3 separate regions of the Homo sapiens genome follow, and all the other regions are linked to region 2. Evidence: promoter capture Hi-C in human tissues and cell types (Jung and others, 2019). All regions are on one chromosome and are shown on one strand. Each heading gives the region's core, a stretch centred on a gene start or on the middle of the fragment in contact. The rest is flanking DNA. Distances are from core to core; before and after follow the strand shown. Region 1 holds the start of ZNF43 (zinc finger protein 43). Region 2 overlaps ZNF738 (zinc finger protein 738). Region 3 holds the start of ZNF100 (zinc finger protein 100).

What was found. The method cuts DNA at HindIII sites, captures the fragments that hold promoters and counts their contacts. A contact is called where the count stands out against the background at its distance.
Region 1: a contact is called between the fragment with the promoter of ZNF43 here and a fragment that was not itself captured in region 2, in 5 of the 25 tissues and cell types used here (H1 embryonic stem cells, adrenal gland, dorsolateral prefrontal cortex and 2 more).
Region 3: a contact is called between the fragment with the promoter of ZNF100 here and a fragment that was not itself captured in region 2, in 2 of the 25 tissues and cell types used here (H1 embryonic stem cells and dorsolateral prefrontal cortex).

The regions. Positions count from the first base shown.
Region 1 is chr19:21,833,058-21,837,521 of GRCh38, forward strand. ZNF43 (zinc finger protein 43) reads right to left here and starts at 3,125. Exons shown (of 4, transcript NM_003423.4): 1 at 2,979-3,125. The coding sequence starts at 2,981. RefSeq lists enhancers at 2,216-3,189, 2,719-2,808, 2,849-2,898, 2,919-3,078, 3,190-4,162. The HindIII fragment of the contact is 27,139 bases long and covers 1-4,464 here.
Region 2 is chr19:21,384,065-21,388,806 of GRCh38, forward strand. It overlaps ZNF738 (zinc finger protein 738), which reads left to right. Exons shown (of 5, transcript NM_001355237.2): 5 at 1-4,518. Among named protein-coding and RNA genes, the nearest start is that of ZNF493, 11 kb to the right of the region's middle. The HindIII fragment of the contact is 5,408 bases long and covers 1-4,742 here.
Region 3 is chr19:21,764,572-21,769,034 of GRCh38, forward strand. It overlaps ZNF100 (zinc finger protein 100), which reads right to left and starts at 3,008. Exons shown (of 5, transcript NM_173531.4): 1 at 2,856-3,008; 2 at 1,123-1,215. The coding sequence starts at 2,858. RefSeq lists a silencer at 2,995-3,172. The HindIII fragment of the contact is 21,319 bases long and covers 1-4,463 here.

The DNA of each region.
Region 1 (4,464 bases), core at 1,875-4,374, 450 kb after region 2:
CCACTTATATACCACGTTTTCTTATAAAAATGTATTAATTTTGTACAGCCAAATAAAATAGATTTTCCCTATTCTTTTCCTTGGTAGCATTCTAAAAGCTAAGCCTTGGAATTCTGTTGAAAATCACCCAGCCATAAAATAAAAGACACCTGAGAAGATTCCTAAACTCACTCTGGGAAAGAGAAAGGTAAATGATAATTTTTATTTTATTTTATTTATTTATTTTTTAAACAGAGTTTCCCTCTTGTCGCCCAGGCTGAGTACAATGGCGCGACCTCAGCTCACTGCAACCTCGGCCTCCCAGGTTCAAGCGATTCTCCTGCCTCTGCCTCCCGAAGTAGCTGGGATTACAGGCGCCTGCCCCTGCACCCAGCTAATTTTTTTGTATTTTTAGTTGAGACGGGATTTCACCATGTTGGCCAGGCTGGTCTTGAACTCCTGACCTCAGGTGATTCACCCACCTCGGCCTCCCAAAGTGTTGGGATTATAGGCATGAGCCACTACACCCAGGCTGTGACACTGTAGCACACATAGCCATGGTGGTTATCTTGGTTTATCCCTAGACAGTACTGAAACCCAGGATCAGAAAAAAAAAACAAAAACAACAAAATGAAGTGTGGCTGAGGAAAAATCACCCACATTTTTCGAAAGGAAAAACTTGACCTAAAAACATTCTGAAAAAGTCTCTGGCTGGGTGTGGTGGCTCATGCCTATAATCTCAGCACTTTGGGAGGCCGAGGCAGGTGGATCTCCTGAGGTCGGCAGTTTGAGAACAGCGTGACCAACATGGGGAAACCCTGTCTCTACTAAAAATGCAAAATTAGCCAGGCGTGGTAGTGCATCCCTGTAGTCCTAGCTACTCGGGAGGCTGAGTCAGCAGAATCGCTTGAACCCAGGAGGCAGAGGTTGCAGTGAGCTGAGATGGCTCCACTGCAGTCAAGCCTAGGCAACAAGAGCTAAACTCCATCTTAAGGCGGGGCGGGGGAAAAAAAAGAGTCCTGTGCCTAGGGAAAACAAAAAGAAAAAAGAGGCCAGGCATGGTGGCGGAGGCGGGTGGATCATCTGAGGTTAGGAGTTCGAGACCAGCCTGGTCAACATGGAAAAACCTTGTCTCTAACAAAAATACAAAAATTAGCTGGGAATGGTGGTAGGTGCCGGTAGTTCCAGCTACTGGAGTGGCTGAAGCAAAAGAATCACTTGAATCAGGGAGGCAGAGGTTGCAGTGAGCAGAGATCACATCACTGCACTCCAGACTGGGCAGCAAAGCAACACTGTCTCAAAAAAAAAAAAAAAAAAGTAAAGAAAAAAAGAAAAGGAAAAGAGGCACAGAGATTTTTATTTTTTACAAACAGTGTAAGGGGATTATTTTTTGCTTTCTTTTCAATATGGAAAATATTTTCAAATAGAAAACAAAATTTAGGCCGGACTCGGTGGCTCACGCCTGTAATCCTTGCACTTTGGGAGGCCAAGGCGGGTGGATCACAAGGTCAGGAGTTCGAAACCAGCTTGGCCAACAAGGTGAAACCCTGTCTCAACTAAAAATACAAAAAAATTAACCAGGCACGGTGGCAGGTGCCTGTAATTCCAGCTACTCGGGAGGCTGAGGCAGGAGAATCGGTTGAACCCGGGAGGTTGCAATGAGCTGAGATTGCACCATTGCACTCCAGCCTGGGAAACAAAGCGAGAGGAAGGATGGAAGCAAGGATGGAAAGATGGAAGGAAGGAAGGAAGGAAGGAAAGAAAGAAGAAGGAAAGAAGAAAGGAAAATTTATTTAAGTCCATCCAATGATTTTTCAAAAAATAATTAAAATATCTGTATCAAAAATATACAGATATCTAAAATATCTTTATCTAAAACGTATCTCTGTATCTAAAATGTACACTAAAAAAAAAAAAAAAATAGCCCGGCTCGGTGGCTATTTTTAAGTGCTGTAATCCTAGCACTTTGGGAGGCTGAGGCGGGTGGATCATCTGAGCTCAGGAGTTCGAGACCACCTGGCCAATATAGTGAAATCCCGTCTTTACTAAAAATACAAAAAAAATTAGCTGGGTGTGGTGGCAGGCACCTGTAATCCCAGCTACTAAGGAGGCTGAGGCAAGAAAATCGCTTGAATCCGGGAGACGGAGGTTGCAGGGAGCCGAGATAGCACCATTGCACTCCAGCCTGGGCAGCAAAAGCGAAAGTCCATCTCAAAAAAAAAAAAAAAAAGAAAAAAAAGAAAAAATAGTTGATAACGTGAATTGCGGAGAAGAAGGTGGCATTTGGGAATGTCAGAAATAAAGGAAAATCTAGTTTAGTTTTTTTTTTTTTTTTTTTCCAGAGGGAGTTTCACTCTGTGGCCCAGGCTGGAGTGCAATGGCGCGATCTCGGCTCACTGCATCCTCCGCCTCCTGGGTTCAAGCGATTTTCCTGTCTCAGCCTCCCTAGTAGCTGCGATTACAGGCGCGCGCCACCACGCCCAGCTAATTTTTGTATTTTTAGTATAGACGGGGTTCACCATATTAGCCAGGCTGCTCTCGAACTCCTCACCTCGTCATCCACCCACCTCGACCTCCCAAAGTGCTGGGATTAAAGGCGTGACCCACCGCGCCCGGCCGACTCTCCTGTTTCTAATAGACCAAAAGAGGGACTAGAAATGCCACGGACCAAAGCTCTTCCTATTCATGAAACTGCATCACGAGTCAGGATTCTCTCCTGACGACCCTCCTGTGGCCCCTGCACAATTTGGGAGAGACGCCGCGTTGCGGCTGCAGAGCTGCCCACAGAGGGCTGCAGGCCGGGACACAGTCACTGCGCAGAGAAGAGACAGGACGCCCGGGGCTGCCTCCCAGAGCAGCCGCCATCTTATGGCTGAAGGGGATTGAGGCCGAGCTGGGCAAGAACTCCGGCACGCGCAGATTGTGGAGCTGACTGCGGGAAGGCCTGAGTCACGCCACAGCCCCTTCCCCCTCTCGGGATGTCGGACCGGCACTCTCACCATTTCTAGGCTTCCGGGGGGTCCTGGCGTCTTAGCTGTGGATCCCCCAATACCCGCAGGTCACAGAGCCACAGAGGCTGGACCTCTAGCAGCAGAGGACACAGAAGAACGAAGACGAGACGCAGAGCTCCAACTGCAGCCAGAGACAAAGGCCCCGCCACATCCCGGAAGCCGCCCTGTCCTCTCCTGCCCCGTGCCTGATTGGACGGTTTCCAGCCCAGCGTCCCTGATTGGATAACTTCTAAGGTCCTGCCCCCGCAAACCCTGAATGAAAGATGTGATCAGACGCTGGGCTGAAAGAAGAAAGAATGACAGCCTAGGCTGCCGCCTTTTCAGGCAGGGCTTCCTCCCTGAGCAGAGCAGGCCCAACCCAGAGGGTATTTGCCTTTAACCTTGTGTATAAGGTCATCTTCACTTATAAGTAATATACTATATGGATACTAAAAAATGAAAACAATTGTTTTTGAATTTCAGCTTTTATGACCTTCCTGGCTTCTGGCCCTTTGAGTAGGAAGTATTACAAACATTGAATATTTTATTATTTATCCTCTGTGGGGTTTTTCTTATTCTTGAGAGGGAGTCTCTGTTACCCAGGCTGGAGTGCAGGGTCATGACTGCAGCTCACTGCAGCCTCAGCAATCTAGGCTTGAGCAATTTACCTGTCTCAGCCTTCTGAGTAGCTGGGACCACTGGCATGTGGCCCCATGCTCAGCTAATTTGTTATCATATTTTTATTTGTAGAGATGAAGCCTCACTAGATAGCCCAGAATGGTCTCAAACTCTTGGGCTCAATGAATCCTACAAAGTCAGCCTCCCAAAGTACTGGGATTATAGGCATGAACCATCACATTCAGACTGAATTATTTTATCAAAAAATTTTTTTAAAGCATTGAGGTCCATTAATAGAATTCAAGGAAATGTTATGCACATGTTTTAAAAGCAAATTAAAAAGCATATACAAAAAGAGAACATTTTTTAAAAAACTAAATATAGGTAATGTTACCAGAAAAAGTTTAGATCTCCTGACTTTAAGTTGCAGTATGCTAATGGAATATTCTTAGTGGATAGTATTCCATTTTCATAAGAAATTCAAAACAAGATAATTTCCAGGTTTTAGAAACTGATGTAAAACATAAAAATATAGAAAATCTCTAATGTGTTCCCATGATATAGTATTACTTGAAATATAAACTGGGCAAACTCAGCAAAAGACAATTTAATCTCAAATTTCAAAATAGGTACAGAAGTTCTAATGGAATAATAAATGGAATCCAGGATTTTATTCATAAAAAGGCTAAAAAGTGACCATTCTCTGTGATTTTGAAAGTAGGAATTTGTGTAAACAGATGTGTATTTGCATCTACATTTGCCTACACTTACTTTTTTTTTTTTTTTTTTTTTTTTTTTGAGACGGAGTCTTGCTCTGTCGACCAGGCTGGAGTGCAGTGGCACAATCTCGGCTCACTGCAACCTCCGCCTCCCAGGT
Region 2 (4,742 bases), core at 949-3,448:
TGGAGAGAAACCCTACAAATGTGAAGAATGTGGCAAAGCTTTCTACCGATTATCTTATCTTACTACACATAAGATGATTCATACTGTAGAGAAACGCTACAAATGTGAGGAATGTGGCAAAGCTTTTAACTGGTACTCACGCCTTACTACACATAAGAGAATTCATACTGGTGAGAAACCCTACAAATGTGAAGAATGTGGCAAAGCCTTTAGTGTATTCTCAACCCTTACTAAACATAAGATAATTCATACTGGAGAGAGACCCTACAAGTGTGAAGAATGTGGCAAAGCCTTTAATGTATTCTCAACCCTTACTAAACATAAGAGAATTCATAATGGAGAGAAACCCTACAAATGTTTAGAATGTGGCAAAGATTTCTACCAATTCTCATACCTTACTACACATAAGATGATTCATACTGGAGAGAGACCCTACAAACATGAAGAAAGTGGCAAAGCTTTTAACTGTTCCTCACAAATTACTAGACATAAGATAATTCATACTGGAGAGAAACCCTACAAATGTGAAGAATGTGGCAAAGCTTTTTAAAAATCCTCAAACCTTACTAATCATAAGATAACTCATACTGGAGAGAAACCCTACAAATGTGAAGAATGTGGAAAAGCTTTTAACCAGTCCTCAACTCTTACTAGACATAAGAGAGTTCATACTGGAGAGAAACCCTACAAATGTGAAGAATGTGGCAAAGCTTATAACTGGTCCTCAAACCTTACTAAACATAAGAAAATTCATACTGGAGAGACACCCTACAAATGTGAAGAATGTGGCAAAGCTTTTAACCAATCTTCAACCCTTACTATACATAAGATAATTCATATTGGAGAATAACACTACAAATGTAAAAAATGTGGCAAACCTTATAACCAGTACTCATACTTTACTACACATAGGAGAATTCATGCGGAAGAGAATTTCTACAAATGTGAAGAATGTGGCAAAGGCTTTGACTGGTCCTCTACCCTTACTAAAGATAAAAGAGTTTGACTGGGTGCGGTGGCTCATGCCTGTAATCCCAGCACTTTGGGAGGCTGAGGCAGGCAGATCACCTGGTCAATGGTCCTCTACCCTTACTAAAGATAAAAGAGTTTGACTGGGTGCGGTGGCTCATGCCTGTAATCCCAGCACTTTGGGAGGCTGAGGCAGGCAGATCACCTGGTCAAGAGTTCAAGACCAGCCTGGCCCATATGGTGAAACCCCATCTCTACTAAAAATATAAAAAATTAGCCAGGTGTAGTGGTGCACACCTGTAGTCCCAGCTACTCTGGAGGCCTAGGTGGGAGAATCGCTTGAACCCAGGAGGTGGAGGTTGCAGTGAGCTGAGATGGCTCCACTGCACTCCAGCCTGGATGACAGAGAGAGACTCTATCTCCAAAAAAATAAATAAATAAATAAAAAAAATAAGAGAGTTCATACTAGAGAGAAACCCTGCAAATGTGAAGAATGTGAGAAAGCTCTTAACCAGTCCTCACACCTTACTGCACATAAGAGAAATCATACTGGAAGGAAACCCTACAAATGTAAAGAATGTGAGAAAGCTTTTAACTGGTACTCATGCCTTACTGCACATAAGATAATTCATACTGGAGAGAAACTCTACAAATGTCAAGAATGTGGCAAAGCTTTTAACCGGTACTCAACCCTTACTACACATAAGGTAATTCATGCTGGAGAGATACCCTACAAATGTGAAGAATGTGGCAAAGGTTTTTATTGATTCTCATACTTTACTAAAAATAAGGTGATTCATTCTGGAGAGAAATTCTACAAATGTGAAGAATGTGGCAAAGGCTTTAATTTGTCCTCAACACTTACTAAACAGAATTCATAGCAGAGAGAAATCCTACAAATATGAAGAATGTCACAAAGCTTTTAACCACTTCTCAACCCTGATGACACATAAGGTAATTCGTGCTGGAGAGAAACCCTACAAATATGAAGAATATCTCAAAACTTTTTATAGATTCTCATACCTTATTAAACATAAAATCTTACAGGAGAGAAATTATACAAATGTGAAGAATGTGGCAAAGCTTTTAAGAAATCCTCATCCATTACTAAACAAGATAATTTGTACTGGAGAGAAAACCTACAAACGTGAGGAATGTGGCAAAGCCTTTAATGGTCCCCTCAACTTTCTGCACATAAGATAATTTATACTGTGGAGAAGCCTTACAAATGTGAAAAATGTAGCAAACCTTTTAACTAATCCTCAACCCTTACTACACATAAGATAATTAATGCTGGAGGGAAATCCCACCCATGTGGCAAAGCTTTTAATCAATCCTCAAACCTTACTAAACATAAGATAACTCATACTGGAGAAAAATCTTAGAAATGTGAAGGATGTGGTAAAGCCGTTATCCAGTCCTCAACTCCCACTAAACATAACATAATTCATACTGGAGAGAAACCTCACAACTGTGAAGAATGTGGCAAAGCTTTTAACCAGTCCTACAAACCTTTTTGAACAAAATAATTCATACAGGAGAGAAACACTACAAATGTGAGGAATGTGACAAAGCCTTTAACCAGTCCTCAATTCTTACCAAACATAAGAAAATTCATATTGGAGATTAACCTTATGAGTGTGAAAAATATGGCAAAAGCTTTAACTAGTTCTCAGTTATTATTATTATTTTTAGAGATGGAGTTTCACTCTTGTTGCCAAGGCTGCAATACTGTGGCATGATTTCAGCTCACTGCAACCTCCGTCTCCCAGGTTTAAGCAATTCTGCCTCAGCCTCCCGAGTAGCTGGGATTACAGGCATGCACCACTATACCCATCTAATTTTGTATGTTTAGCAGAGATGGGGTTTCTCCATGTAGATCAGGCTGGTCTTGAACTCCTGACCTTGTAATCTGCCCACCTCAGCCTCCCAAAGTGCTGGGATTACAGGCATGAGCCACCACGCTCAGCCACTAGTCCTCAGATCTTAACACACATAAGATAATTCATACTGGAAAGAAACTCCACAAACCAGAAAGATGCAATAATGCTTTTGACAACACCTCAAGCTTTTCTAACCATAAAAAGAATCATATTGGTGAGAAATCCTAGAAATGTGAAGAATGTGACAAAGTCTTTAAATGGTTGTCATACTTGACTTTTTTCTTTTTTTGAGATGAAGTCTCACTCTTGTCCCCCAGGCTGGTGTGCAATGGCATGATGTCGGCTCACTGCAAACTCCGCCTCCCAGGTTCAAGTGATTCTCCTACCTCAGCCTCCCAAGTAGCTGGGATTACAGGCACCTGCCACCACGCCTGGCTAATTTTTGTACTTTTAGTAGAGATGGGGTATGACCATCTTGGCCAGGCTGGTCTCAAACTCCTGACCTCAGGTGATCCGCCCACCTCGGGCCTCCCAAAGTGCTGGGATTACAGGCATGAGCCACCACTCCCTGCCTTACTTGATTACATTCAATATAATTCATACTGGAAAGAAATCCTACAAGTGAGAGCAATGTGGCAAAACTTAACCACCTTATTGCACAGAAAAGCATTTATGTTTGAGAAAAATTATACAAATACAGACTGTGAAAAAGACATTAATATCTGCTTACATCTTAACACCAGAGAGTTCATACTTAATAAAAGCAAGATAAGGGCAATTACTGTCAAAAGGTCTTTCAGAAAAATATAACCCTTTAAAGTGAAGAAGAGAATTTATATTGAAGATGGACATTACAAACATAAAGAGGGTTGTAGTACCTTTACTTGAATCAAATTTTATTGTACACATTTTGTACTAGAGGAAAACTCTGAAGCAGTTGCTCAAGCTTTGTTCAACATTAGGGCACTTATATTGGAAAAGTGTCTTGCAGATATAATAAATGTGGAAAAACACTTTTTCAAAAACTACATCAGAAAACACCAGAGTTTATACTGAAGAATATTTTTGAAGATGCACTAAAAATGAAAAAATATTTAATCCAAATTAGGGCTATGTAAATATCAGAATTTATAATAGAAATATATAAGGAACTGACACTGCAGATATACTAAGTCAAGAGTTCTGAGTATAGAAAATAATCTAAAACTAAAGTTGATAGAAAAAGTATTTGTATATAAATTTAAGAGGAGTAAAAGATTTTTTGCAGAGTAATAACTACATTCTAAGTATACTTTATTTCTTGAAAAAATTACAGACTTTGAAAGCAAATGATGTAATTCAACACTCATTTTCTGGTGTTTCTTCATTCTTATTCACTTGTGAAAGCATGTGATAATTGTTGCATCAAAGGTATGAGAGATTCTTTTCCATTAGGTGGGCATTTATGATCTTTTCTATGGACAAGTAAGGACATTAGAATGTAAGATGCATGATGAAAAAGTGGAGAGGTTCTTTGTGGTTAACTTATACTCTTGAGTGATATATGAGGTAGGTGTTAAGAGTATTGTTCTTTTGCATTATGAGAAAACTAGTAGTATATTATTAGTATATTATTGTACTAATTGTACTTTTATATAATAAAATGCAGCACATTTTTAAAATTTTACATTATGTGTGAAGTTAATGGTTTCAACATTTTTAACATGTTAATCTCTTGCCAGTGGCTTTAAAGTATAGATAAATTAAATAATAATATTCCTGTTGGGTAAATATTTATTCTTATTTTAATCAATTAAATTTATTTTTCTTAATTTTTGTGGGTATATGAGTATATATACTTATGCCATATATGGCATATTTTGATACACAAATATAATACATAATAATCAT
Region 3 (4,463 bases), core at 1,758-4,257, 380 kb after region 2:
GGAGGTTGCAGTGAGCCAAGATGGTGCCATTGCCCTCCAGCCTGGGTGACAGAACCAGACTCCGTGTGGGGAAAAAAAAAAAAAAGCAAAAGTATCTATTTCTTTCAGACAATAAACGTATTACTTTATTAATTCCATTTAAAATTATTTTGTAAACAATGAGTCATATGGGAGCACTTCTAAACAGTACCGAGTTTCATCTCATAAAATTTAGCATAAAACTCAAAAATCAATGTAACAGGATCTGAACACAGATATTCACTGTCACAAATTTACCCTGAAAAAAAAGAAACTGATGTTTTAATGAATCTATGTAACTCACCAATTATCCACCACATTTTCTTGTGGAAATGTATTCATTTTCCAAAACTAAAATTGAGAGATTTTGCCTGGGAGCATTCTAAAAGCTAAGCCTTGAAATTCTGTTTGAAATCACTCAGCCATAAAAAAAACACACCTGAGAAAATTCCTAACTCACTCTGGGAAAAACAGTAAATGAGAATTTTTAACAAATTTTTGACAAATGAAATACATGATCAGACATTTTTTTCTGAAACCCACCTCTTTCATGACCTTTGTAAATATTTTTCTACCTTTCAAGCCCTACTAATATAATGCAATTTACAGCTAAAAAACTGAGGTCAAAATAAGTGACAAATATCTTCAAGGTGACAAACCCAGGTAGTGGCAGTGCTGATTAAATAACAGATGTGTCTGACTCATGTTTCAAGTCAGGTCATTCAATCACTGGAGAGATTCTTCCACCCACTCCTGCTCACTTATGTGCTCAAGAACCACCCACTCAGAAGACACTGCATTATGCCCCAGTGACTGCCCCAGGTGCATTTTACTTTGCAAGCTCTTACACCATCTCACTGGGGTCAGTTCTGTTGTTGTTTGTCTTTTGGAATACTTTTTGGTAACAAAATTTTCACTTTTTTTTCCAATATTTTTCTTTATATTTATTTCACTATTTTTCTGCCCCCCTTAGATGATCCAGGGAGCAGAAATTATTTTTGTGTTTCCCCTCAATACCAGCATCTGATTGGCTGACCAGCAACGTGTCTCCAAGAAATGAAAGCTGGGTTGGGTGAAGACAATTTTAATGTCTCAAGGGGTTACCTTTTCAAAATAAGACTGCACCAGAAGACTCCTCTCAGCCCCAGGGCATCCACTTGCTCCCTTGAGAGGACACATTCCATACCTCGGGTCATCCTACGGGAGAAAATAAACCAGAAGCTGACATTCACTAGGCACTTTAGCTGACAGAACCATGGCGGATATCTCGGTTTATCCACAGATAGTACTGAAACCCAGGACCAGGAAAAAACTAAAGGGTGGCTGAGGACACATCACCCCATAGATTTTTCCAAATCAAAACCTTGACCCAAAAACATTCTGATAAATCTCTGTGCCTAGAGAAGGTAAAAGGAAAAGAGACACAGAGATTTTCTACAATACAGTGTCAGAGGATTAGTCTTTGTTTCCTTTTCGTGGGAAATATTTACAAGCGGATAACACATCTTCTTAAAAGCGCCATTTAATGCTTTGTCAAAAACAATTAATTAAAATATGGTATAAACAAGTACACTAAAGGACAAATAGGTGATAATGTGAATTAGGAAGGAAAAGTTGACATTTGGGAACGCCAGAAGAAATTGGAAATTTAGTATCTTACTGCAAGCCAGAGTGAGGCTGGAGAAATGGGGGACGGGGGTTAGACTTAACAACCTGCTTGGGACACAGGTGAAAAATGCAGCAGAAAATCAGTTCCCCGTGGAGTGTGAAAATAATTAAGAGACAGGCAATTCCACTGAGGTGTCTCTAGTCCCTGGGTTCCTACTTAAAAAAAAAAAAAATCTAACTCAGGTGCATTTTTTTTTTAATTACTACATTCAGAGAAAATGTAGGCTTAAACAACTATAAACTGTTAATTAACCTCTGATTACACAACCAGGAAATCTTCACCTGTATTGTACAAATCAAGAAACTACGTTACTGTAACCAATTACTAAATTTAGTTTTCTTCATCATACATTTTATAAATGACTTTCCTTCAAGCCTCTCCCATAGACAACAAACTACAAACCATAGCTGGATACTCTATGATTCTTGAATCACTGTTTGATTAAATTCTTTAGGCCAGGCGCGGTGGCTCACGCCTGTAATCCCAGCACTTTAGGAGGCCAAGGCGGGCGGATCACGAGGTCAGGAGTTCAAGACCAGCCTGGCCAACGAGGTGAAACCCCGTCCCAACTAAAAATACAAAAAAATAAGGCCGGCCCAGTGACAGGCGCCTGTAATCCCAGTTACTCGGGAGGCTGAGCCAGGAGAATCTCCAGAACCCGGGAGGCGGAGGTTGCAGTGAGGGGAGATCGCGCCACTAAACCCTAGCCTGGGCGACAGAGCGACTCCGTCTCAAACAAACAAAAAAATCGTTAATATTTGTGCAGTGACTCCCATACATTTTTAATAGGAGAAAAGAGGAACTGGGAAAGCCACGGACCAAAGATCTTCCCATTCATGAACCCGCACCCCGAGTCAGGATTTTCCCCTGACGACCCTCCCGTGGTCCCTGCACAATCTGAGAGAGACGCGGCGCTGCGGGTGCAGAGCTGCCAAGAGAGGGCTCCAGGCCAAGGCACAGTCACTACGCAGGGAAGAGAAAGGACGCCTGGGGTCCTGGCTGTCAGCGCAGCCGCCATCTTATGGCCGAAGGGGACGGAGGCCGAGCTGGGCAAGGCGCAGATTGTGAAGCTGACTGCGGAGAGGCCTGAGTCCCGCCACAGCTACTTCCCACCAGTTCCAACCAGCCCTTTCGCCGTCTCTCGGGATGTCGGACCGGGCACTCTCACCATTTCTAGGCTTCTAGGGGGTCCTGGCGTCTTAGCTGTGGATCTCCCAATATCTGCAGGTCAGAGGGCCACACAGGCTAGGCCCCTAGGAGCAGAAGACACAGAGAAGTGAGAGCAAAACCTGGAGCTCCGGCTACAGCGAGAGACAAAGACCCCGCCAAACCCGGAAGCCGTCCAGTCCGCTCCAGCTGCATGCCTGATTGGACGGTTTCCAGCCCAGCGTCCCTGGTTGGATAATGCTTAAATCCCCGCCCTGTCAGGCTTTGAGTGACAGAAGATGTGATCAGATGCGGGTTCAATGAAGAAAGAGTGACAGCCTAGACTGCCCCCTCTTCTGACAGGGCTTCCTCCCTCAGCTGAGCTAGGCCCATCCCAGAGAGTATTTGCCTTTAAATTTGTGTATAAGGTCATATGTATAAATAAATAATACATTATATAGCTATACACAAGTGAAAAGAATATAACAATTATTTTAAAATTTCAGCTTTTATGACCTTCCTGGCTTCTGGCCCTTTGAGCAGGCAGCCTGAGATTTTAGAAAAGAGAAAATCATCTAAAATGAATGTCAGCCACATGTGGATTTGAAATTTTCTAGTAGCCAAACTTTAAAAAGAAACAAGTTGAACTGATTGTTAACAATGTAATTCACCCATTATATTCAAAATATTATCATTTTAATGTGTGAGAAATATGTAATTATTGATAAAATATATAAATATTTGGAACTAAATCTTTGAAGCTGACTTTGTATTTTACCTTTCTAGCATATCGCATTTCAGACCAGGCACATTGTGGGAACCCAGTAGCCACACATGGACAATAGCTGTCACATTGAAGTGCAGCTCTGATGTCAGCGGTGTGAAGGGCCTGAACATCTCTTTCCTGCGAGAGTGAAAGAAGAGACTCTCCCTACAAACATCTCTCTTTGGTTCCTAGGGTGGACCAGATAGTTCCCATAGAAAGAGCTGAGGGCAGTAGGAATAAAATAGCCACAGGTAATAAACAACTGCTGGCCACCTGTTGCCCACCTTTCTTTTAGAGACCAGATAGTGAACAAAGGATGATGGGGCCACAGGAGAAAAAACAACTATGTCTTCAGTTCTGTCCACACACTTGAACTCCAGTATTTAGAGATGGAGAAAATAGATTAAAAACAAACATAGTTTGCTATATGGTCTTGGCCCTAACAATCAGGCTGTGTTTATCTGTTTTCTCCTGTGGTGTGGGGGACTATGTGAGTCTAAGCACCAATCACACGCATACATGTCTACAGGTATTTCTGCATTACCCAAAATTCTCTTACAAAACATCGAACTTTAAATCAGGGGAAGAAATCAGTACCTAGAGGGTGTCCACTGTTAGAAGCCAACTCTTAGTCAACCTGTCACTGAATCCTGGCAACTTATCTGTACTGGGTGCATGTATTAGTTAGCTATTGAGGCATAACAAATCATCCAAAACTTATTAGTTTATAATTGAAATGGTTGGCCATTTAGGCCGAGCTGAGTGGGGCCATTCTTCTGGTCTCAGCTGAGCTCCTTCAGACATGTATCATCACCTGCTTTTTGACTAGACAGCTGTGCATCTGGGGGTGAGCTTCTGCTCCTG